3 separate regions of the Homo sapiens genome follow, and regions 1 and 3 are each linked to region 2. Evidence: promoter capture Hi-C in 16 types of primary human blood cells and fetal thymus (Javierre and others, 2016). All regions are on one chromosome and are shown on one strand. The core of a region is centred on a gene start or on the middle of the fragment in contact, and the rest is flanking DNA. Distances in the headings are between cores, read along the strand shown.

What was found. The method cuts DNA at HindIII sites, captures the fragments that hold promoters and counts their contacts. A CHiCAGO score of 5 or more calls a contact.
Region 1: a fragment that was not itself captured here is called in contact with the fragment with the promoter of CPN2 in region 2 in 7 of 17 cell types (M1 macrophages, M2 macrophages, naive B cells and 4 more); the score reaches 9.6 in M1 macrophages.
Region 3: a contact is called between a fragment that was not itself captured here and the fragment with the promoter of CPN2 in region 2, in 1 of 17 cell types (M0 macrophages). The highest score is 5.7, in M0 macrophages.

Annotation. Positions count from the first base shown.
Region 1 is chr3:193,799,988-193,803,250 of GRCh38, reverse strand. No RefSeq gene overlaps it. Among named protein-coding and RNA genes, the nearest start is that of LINC02038, 42 kb to the left of the region's middle. The HindIII fragment of the contact is 1,297 bases long and covers 750-2,046 here.
Region 2 is chr3:194,349,751-194,352,662 of GRCh38, reverse strand. CPN2 (carboxypeptidase N subunit 2) reads left to right here and starts at 1,335. Exons shown (of 2, transcript NM_001080513.4): 1 at 1,335-1,421. RefSeq lists an enhancer at 1,010-1,859. The HindIII fragment of the contact is 6,903 bases long and covers 1-2,912 here.
Region 3 is chr3:193,817,936-193,820,861 of GRCh38, reverse strand. No RefSeq gene overlaps it. Among named protein-coding and RNA genes, the nearest start is that of LINC02038, 25 kb to the left of the region's middle. RefSeq lists enhancers at 803-1,430, 1,431-2,059. The HindIII fragment of the contact is 710 bases long and covers 1,049-1,758 here.

The DNA of each region.
Region 1 (3,263 bases), core at 149-2,648, 550 kb after region 2:
AAGCCAGCTCTATTCTCAGCTTTAGAAATGGAGCATTGAACACAACTAACATACAAACCATAAACACAAAAAAATTAATAAAAGGGGTTAATTTTAATAGTTAAAAATTATTGAAAGAGAATAATTCAGGGTGATGTGATAAAGAATGCTCCAGATAGAGAGGTCCTGGGAGGTATCTCTGGGGCAATGACATTTGGGTTTAAGGGGTGTGAAGGAGGTAGCTGTGCGATCATCTGGGTGAAGATATAAGCCCACGCTAAGGGAACAGCAATAGCAAATGCAAAAGTCCTGAGGAATAGATTTAGTGGGTTAAGAGAACAGAGAAAAAGCCAGAGTGACTGGTGTATAATTAGTGTTTAGGGTGGGGAGGTGGCTGGTGTCCTAGAAGAGGAGATCTGAGGGAAGGACGTGAAATGAATTATATAGTCTCTTACAGGTCAGGGCAAGATTCTATTTTATTCCTTTTTTTTTTTTTTCTTTTGACGCAGTCTCTCACTCTGTCACCCAGGCTGGAGTGCAGTAGCGTGATCTCAGCTCACTGCAACCTCTGCCTCCCACCTCACCCTCCCGAGTAGCTGGGACCACAGGCGTGCACCACCCTGCCTGGTTAATTTTTTTTTGTATTTTTTGTAGAGACAGGGTTTTGCCATGTTGCCCAGGCTAGATTAGATTTTATTCTAAATGCACTAAGATGACTTTGAGGAATTTACACTGGGAAGGCCATATTCTGATTTATGCTTTAAAAAGCTTGCTATGAATCCCTCTCTTAGTAATTAATAGGACAAGTATACAAAAAAGTAAACAGTAAAGATATAGATCCAAACAACACAACTTAATTGATATTTATAGAACTTTCCACACCCAATAAGTATAAATACACATGATTTTCAGCTGCAAATAGAACATTGACTGAGATCAAACATTTGCTGAGGCCCAAAATATATCTCAAAATGTTTCCAATAATTGAAGTATTACAGAATGTATTCTTCCAGCAAACAAAACTAAGCTACAAGCCAATTACAATAAGATACCTAGAAAATCCTCCAAATATTTAGAAATTAAATAACATGCTTCGAACTTGGACCTGGGTCAAAGAATTAATTAAAAGGGAAGTTAGAAAATATTTTGAGGCCAGGCGTGGTGGCTCACACCTGTAATCCAAGCACTTTGGGAGGCCGAGGTGGGCGGATCACTTGAGGCCAAGAGTTTGAGACCAGCCTGACCAACATGGTGAAACCCGGTCTCTACTAAAAACACAAAAATTGGCCAGGCTTGGTGGAGCACGCCTGTAATGCCAGCTATTTGGGTGGCTGAGGCATAAGAATCACTTGAACCTGGGAGGTAGAGGCTGAGTGAGCCAAGACTGTGCCACTGCACTCCAGCCTGGGCAACAGAGGGAGACTGTGTCTTAAAAAAAAAAAAAAAAAGAAAGAAAGAAAAAAGAAAATATTTTAAACTGACTGATAATGAATATACAACATACCAAAATGTATGGTATGCAACTAAAGCATTGCTTAGATGGTAATTTATAGCTTAAATGCTTATATTAAAAAGAAGAAAGGTTTAAAATCAATGATCTAAGTATCTACCTTAGAAAGCTGGAAAAATAACACATTAAATCTAAAACGGAGAAAAAAAGTATGAACATAAGAAAAAAGAAATAAATGAAAGACCAGAAAGCAATGAAATAAAAACCATACTCCAAATAGAAACAATTGGCAAAGCCACGCTTTATTCTTTGACAAGATTAATAAACTTTACAAATCCTTATGAATTAATCAAGAAAAAAATAAAGTAAACATAAATGACTTATTTCAAGGATGAAAGAAGGGATATCCTATAGATCCTACAGACACTAAAAGGATAATAAAAGAATACTATGAACTCTGTCAACAAAGTCAATAATTTATTTCAAGGAACATATGTCTCAAAAAACATAACTTACCAATGCTGACTCAACAAGAAACAGAAAATCTAAGCAGCCCAATTTCTATTCAAAAATTTCAATTCATCATCTTATTCAAAAACATTCCCACAAAGAAAGCTTCAGACCCAGATGGTCTCACTGGTGACTTCTATCACATACTTATAGACCCATTTTACAGAAGCTCTCAGAAAAAAAGAAAAGAAATGACCATTTCCCATCTCATTTTATGAGGCCAACATAATCCTAACTTTAAAAACCTGAGAAAGACATTTTTAGGACAAGGACTCTCTCATCCCCACTGCATGGATGAAGCACACTGAGGCTTGGAGTGCTGACACGACTTGTCCCAAATCTCGGGACATGAAACGGCAGCACTGGGGCCCAGGTTCCCATCCCAAGAGGTTTTTGCTACCATGCTGTCCTCTAGAAGGTGGCCCCTTCACAATCTGCAGATCACATCCTGTAGGCAACAGCTCACACCTGCTGGGGCCAGGAGACAAGACCTGAGGAATGCCCCTTCTCCACTTCCTACCCCTAAAGGAATGTGGATGGTGGGTTTTGCACCCCATCTCGCCCATTGTGTGAATCTTCCTATTTACAATGAACAGCTGTGTGAGGCCAAAGATGTATGTGTGGTTATAGGAAAAAAACTTCCATATCACATCTGGTTTTGTCATTTGGGCCAATAATCCTGTCTAGTCCATTATGTATTGCTCTGTGTAACAGATACGGCACAGAAGGAATGCTTAAAAGTTTTAACAGGAGAGGAAGTCCCTGCCAGATGAAGATAACGGCAGGATCACAGCATGGTAAGAGCAAAACTCTGCTCAGTTTTTACTTATGCAGAGGCCCAAGTTGTATTTAAACTGAAGCTGGAGTGTTATCGATTAATATTCAAATCAGCAAAGTCTTGTGTTTTACCCATGGTCAGAACTTGAAATAACGGCCTCAGTTCCTCCGTGACCCTGCAGTTTTGATGTCCTGGCCATGATTTTAGAAGGGGGCCATTGGCTAGAACGTGGGAATTTATTTCACAGTGTGTGTTGTAATGGGTTGCCAATCTTCGTGACCTGCTGGAGAACATGGCTTAGCTTCATCTCTCAGCCTTGACCTCAGTCACATCATGCTGAGGCCTCCTCGTCAGTTCTAGGGCCATGGTTTCCCAGTGTGTCTTCTGCCTGTAATTTCCTCTCCTGCAGTATACCTTTCCCAGCTTCACTGGAAATTGTATTTCTAGGTTGTCTTTGGGTTAAACTACACATTTATTAGTACATCTCTCTAAATTCTATCCTCAGTATGTGTTACTGACTTCTCAAATTGAAATTCTCTAAACTGA
Region 2 (2,912 bases), core at 86-2,585:
ACACACCCACTTATACCACACACACCCCTACACCCACTTACACACACCCACTCACACATACACCCACTTACACACACTGCACACCTACACACACGCACTCACCACACACACCCCTACACCCATTCACACATATACCCACTCACACCCCCCACACCCACACGCACGCACTCACCAAACACTCCCCTACACCCACTTACATACCCATTCACACATACACCCACTTACACACGCACTCACCACACACACCGCTACACCCATTCACACATATACCCATTTACACACACACACCCCACACCCACACGCATGCACTCACCAAACACTCCCCTACACCCACTTACACACGCACTCACCACACACACCTTTACACCCACTCACACATACACCCACTTACACACACATCACACATGTGCTCTCACCACACACACTCCTACACTCACATACACACGCCCACTCACATATACACCCTCTTTACATACCACACCCCCACACACGCACTCACCACACACACCCCTACACCCACTCACACATACACCCACACACGCACCCACACACGCACTCACCACACACACACCCTACCCACGCGCGCACACACCCACTCACACATACACCCACTTACACACACAACACACCCCCACACATGCACTCACCACACACCCCCTACAGCCACTCACATTTACACCCACTTACATGCACACCCCCAGATGCACGCACTCAGCACACACACACTCCGTGTGTCTTGCAGCCCTGGTTCCACACCTCCGGAGATGGGAAAATCCCTCCCTTCCAAAGCAGCATCTTTCGTCCTCGGCCAGCCCTGAGTGTGTGAGCGCTCCTCTCCATATTGGGCCCCAATTCATCTCCCTATAGCTTTTCCCCCTTCTAATTCAGGAAGGGTTTAGAAAGTTCATTCATTAAACAAGCAAACAAACACAACAAGACAAAACAACAAATCCACAGCCCTCTTGAAATGCCTCCGGGCGCTGAGAGCCCAGCAGGGGCCTGAGGCTGAAGGCAGGCTCCCAGTCCCTCTGCCTCTGCTCACAGGTATGGGTGTGAGCGTGGACCCCATCCCAGGCCTCACCAACCCAGCCGCCTGCGGGAATCTCTAGAGCTTTCTGAGTGTCCTCGGGGTCCTGAAGGTGCCAACCCTGCAACCTCGGTGGGATTTTGGCCCCGGCAGGGCTCTGTACATGGGAGGAGTTCAGGGTCATTTTGTAATCTTCAGAGGCCTTGCCAAGGCCCTCTCCCGTCCTGTGACCCTGGTGACATTCTGGGACGCTGGGGCCACGTGAGGGGAGGAACCACTGCCTGGAACTTTGATCAGCGCTGGGGCTGGATTGAGCTGACCACAGGCCACACCAGACTCCTCTCTGCTCCTGAGGAAGACAGGGCAGCCCGGCGCCACCCGCTCGGCCCTCACGGTAGGCTCCCGGGGTCGCTGAAGGGCTCCAGGGTCTGCAGGGACGTGGGGGCAGGAACGGGAACTTGCGATCTCCCCCGTTTCAGAGCATTCCGCAGCTCCAGGCAGGCTGCGGTTCTGGGGGGCCCCTGCCCCGGGAGGAGAAGTCCCTGAGGTGCTCAGCTAGGGCGCTGCTGGGAAGAGGCAGGAGGAAGGTGGGGCGGGGGTTTGTGAGATGAAGATCTGCCAGTCCTGGCCTACAAGGCTGGTAGTGAGTAGAGGATAAGCAGGGTGACCAGATGTCCAGGTTGGCCTGGTTCTGCCTAGTTTATACTTGTCATCTTGGCATAATAATAATAAATAGTATTACTAATTACTTATTAATCCTATATTAATACTAAATATTATTAATTATTTATTAATATAATTATTGTTTTTTGAGATGGGGGTCTTGTTATGTTGCTCAGGCTGGTCTTGAACTCCTGGCTTCAAGCGATCCTCCCACTCAGCCTGCTGAGTAGCTGGGATTACAAGCGCATGCCACAGCACCCAGCTCAGGCCCAAGGATGACTAGCTCCTGGTTTCCTTCCCAGAAGCGTGCTGGCTCATATAATAAAGTTTGTGGTGAAATAAACCTGCAGGGGGCCACCTTTTATTGAACATTCAGTATGTGCCAGGCGCTGTGTTAAGGGCTTTCTATTTACTATCTTATTTAGCCTATTTATCATCCAATGGAGTGCTAATTTGAACTCTGAGGGCAGAGGTGATAATTAAGTCTGGAAAACCTGAGGCTTAGAGAGTTGGAGTGATTTGCACAAGCCCACACCGCTAGTAGGTGATGGCGTCAGAATCTGATCCCAGCTGGGGGCACTGGCGGAGCTAAAGTGCTTTCCCCTGCTACTAAGCAGGATGAGAGTAAGGCCTGAGATGCGAAGTCACTGAAAGCCACAAACACATTCCTTCAATTCAGCACACAGGGCCTGACTGCCTTCTCAGTGCCTGGCCCCGAGCCAGGTGCTGGGGTGCAGAGCTGCTTGCAGAGACACCACAGCAAGACTGCAGTACCACGGGCTCAGTCGGGTGGGTGCAACTGACTAGAAAACAGAGCGGAAGAGCCCAAACATTCAACACAGTACAAGAGGGATCCGAGGACCCAAGAAAGGGCCGAGCGCGGTGGCTCACGCCTGTAATCCCAGCACTTTGGGAGGCCGAGGCAGGCGGATCACCTGAGGTCAGGAGTTCGAGACCAGCCTGGCCAACACAGTGAAACCCCATCTCTACTAAAAATACAAAAATTAGCCAGATGTGGTGGCAGGCGCCTGTAATCCCAACTACTCGGGAGGCTGAGGCAGGAGAATCGCTTGAACCCGGGAGGCAGAGGTTGCAGTGAGCAGAGATGGCGTCACTGCACTCCAGCCTGGGAAACAAGAGTGAAACTCTGTCTCAAAAAAAAAAAAAAAAAAAAAAAAAAAAAAAAAAAAAAAAGAAGAGGGTAGTCAGGAAGGCTTCATGG
Region 3 (2,926 bases), core at 154-2,653, 530 kb after region 2:
TGATGGTGCATGCCTGTAGTCCCAGCTACTCAGGAGGCTGAGGTGGGAGGATTGCTTGAGCCCGGGAAGTGAATGTTGCAGTGAGCTGAGATCATGCCACTGCACTCCAGCCTGGGCAATAGAGTAAGACTCTGTCTCAAAAAATAAAATAAAATGAAGTTTATTAAACATAGTTTGGGAAGATGAGAAGTTCTGGAGATTCGCTGCAGGCCAATGATAATATACTTAACATTGCTAAACTGTAAGCTTAAAAATTATTAAGTTGGTAAATTTCGTGTGTATTTTACCACAATTAAAAAAAATTTTTTTAATTGTTCTGTTTAATCTAGGTTATTTGTCTTTTCAAATGAATTTTAGGATCAGCTTGTCAATTCCTACAAAAATGTCTACTGGGATTTTTATTGTGATTTCATTAAATATATAGATTAATTTAAAAATAATTACCATCTTTAATTAAAAACATTGAGACCTCCAAGCAATAACATGGCATATCTCTCTGTTTATTCAGGTATTCTTTAATTTCTCTCAGCAATATGTTGTAGTTTTCAGTGTATAAGTCTAAAATATCTTTTATTAAATTTATTCCTAAATATTTTTATGCTACTGTCAATGGAATTTCTGAAGTTTTATTTTTTGGGTTGTTCTTTGCCGGCATATAGGAATACAATTGATTTCTACATATTAACCTTATATTCTGAGACACTGTCGAATTCATTTATCAGTTCTAGTAGCTTTTTGAAAATTCCTTAGGATTTTCTACATATATGATCACATTGTTCACAAAAAAATGGTTTTATTTCTTCTGTTCCAAGGTGTATGCCTTGTTTTTTGCATGACTTATTAAACCGGCTAGGACCCCCATACCATGTTGAATAGAAGTGGCGAGACAGAATTTTTAAATGAGGTTATTTTACTCTGTGAGGATCCCAGGTGGTCTCTGACAGAGCAGTTCCAATAGAACTGCAGGGCAGAACCAGGCTGCTGCAGATGAATATGCGAGTGGGAACTGAGAGAATTACAGCTGCTGGGTGTTACCACTCATGAAGCTTGACTGAAGAAGGCAGGCAAATGGGTAAAGCACATTCCCTGTTCTCAAGAGGCCCGAGTATAAACAGGGAAGTTCTAGACATGCATTTCTTCAGCTCTGCTGCTGCCTTCCTCAGTCCAGCCACCTTCTCCCACCTGGAACTTCAACAGCCACTTACCTCCCCTTCCGGTTTCTATTCCCCCGTCCCATTTTCCAGTCCATTCTAACGAAAGTCAGAGAATACCTCTTAAAGTAAAAATCAGATTATATTACTCCTGCACTCAAAACTCGGCAACCATGGCCATCCAGGCACTGCGCGGCATGGCCCACCAGTCCCCCGTTCCTCGCTATGCCCCTGGCACACCATCTCGCCTCCTCTTCCTAGCAATTCTTTAGCCAGCTCAGGCTTTTTACAAAGCCTGGCTTCAGGGATTTAGGACAAAAATGTACCTGAGCAGAGATGCAGGTGCAGAGATGTGAATGCAGGTGCAGCCTGTCAACAGATGGGCTCATTTGAAAGAGAAGCCGAGTGAGGCTGGTCCAGGCTCCCCACGGGGATGAGGCTGCAGTACTTACCTGCCCATAGGGCTGTTTAGAGTGTAGATGCATTGCTTGAATGGCTATTTGGTCTCTAGTCTTCAGGTTAATGTGGTTTGTCTCACAGGCTCTCTACAACCTTGCACCTCGACGTGTGGTCTGTGGACCAGGAACATTGTCATCACCTGGAAGCTTCTTGGAAACGTAAAATCCTAGGCCACCTCCCAGACCGATGGAAGCCACATCGGCATTTTAACCAGACACCCTGGTGATTCCATGGTGCATTCTTATCCACATTAAATTTTGACACCCCATAAAAACTCACTCTTCTGAAGCAGAATTCACCTCTCTCTAGTAAAGAACTTTAATTTTTATAATGTGTCAATGAATGAAAATGTAAAACCTAGTAAGAGAAAATGGAAGGACTTGTTCATACAACTGGTAATTAAACAAATGGGAATGAAACTTGGCTAAGGAGAGGGGATGAAGAGGATTAAACTCATAAAAGCAAGTTGGGGGTTCAAATGAGATTTCCGGGAAGGCATCAGTTGAACTCTGCAGTGAATGGCCGACCTGTTTTCATTTGTTTAATAGCTGTTCTCATGGTTACTTCCGTCTCATAGATGCCCCATCCCTACAGTCATGCACATATTCGGTCAGTATGCTCAGCAAAAAACACCCCAGGACCAAAAAGCTTTATGGACATCAGGTTACAAGCTGTATTCTGCCCCTCCCTGCCCCCGAGCCTCTCACCATCTTAGAAAGGCAGGACCTGTGCCATCACTGAAAGCAATGGCATGTTGATATTTCCGTTTTGTTTTTTTTTTTGTTTTTTTTTTTTTTGAGATGGAGTCTCACTCTGTCACCCAGGCTGGAGTGCAGTGGCTCAATCTCGGCTCACTGCAAGCTCCACCTCCCAGGTTCACGCCGTTCTCCTGCCTCAGCCTCCCGAGTAGCTGGGACTACAGGTGCCTGCCACCACGCCCGGCTCATTTTTTGTATTTTTACTACAGACGGGGTTTCACCTTGTTAGCCAGGATGGTCTCGATATCCTTATCTCGTGATCCGCCCACCTTGGCCTCCCAAAGTGCTGGGATTACAGGCATGAGCCACTGCGCTCGGCCGGCATGTGGATATTTCAACCCAACCCAACACTACTGTTGGGCGAAGGCCTCAGGTGTCCAGGGAACAGAAGCCTTTGCAAGCTGGAGGGTGCAGGCCCCACACATTCTGCACCACCATCGGGGGTTCTCTTGTTCAGTGGTTTTACAATCTTGTTTTGTAGCCCAGTTCTGGCAATGCTGCCCAGACCATTCTCCTCTCAGGACTTCTCCTACAGTCCACCCAGAAGCAGAGCCCCAC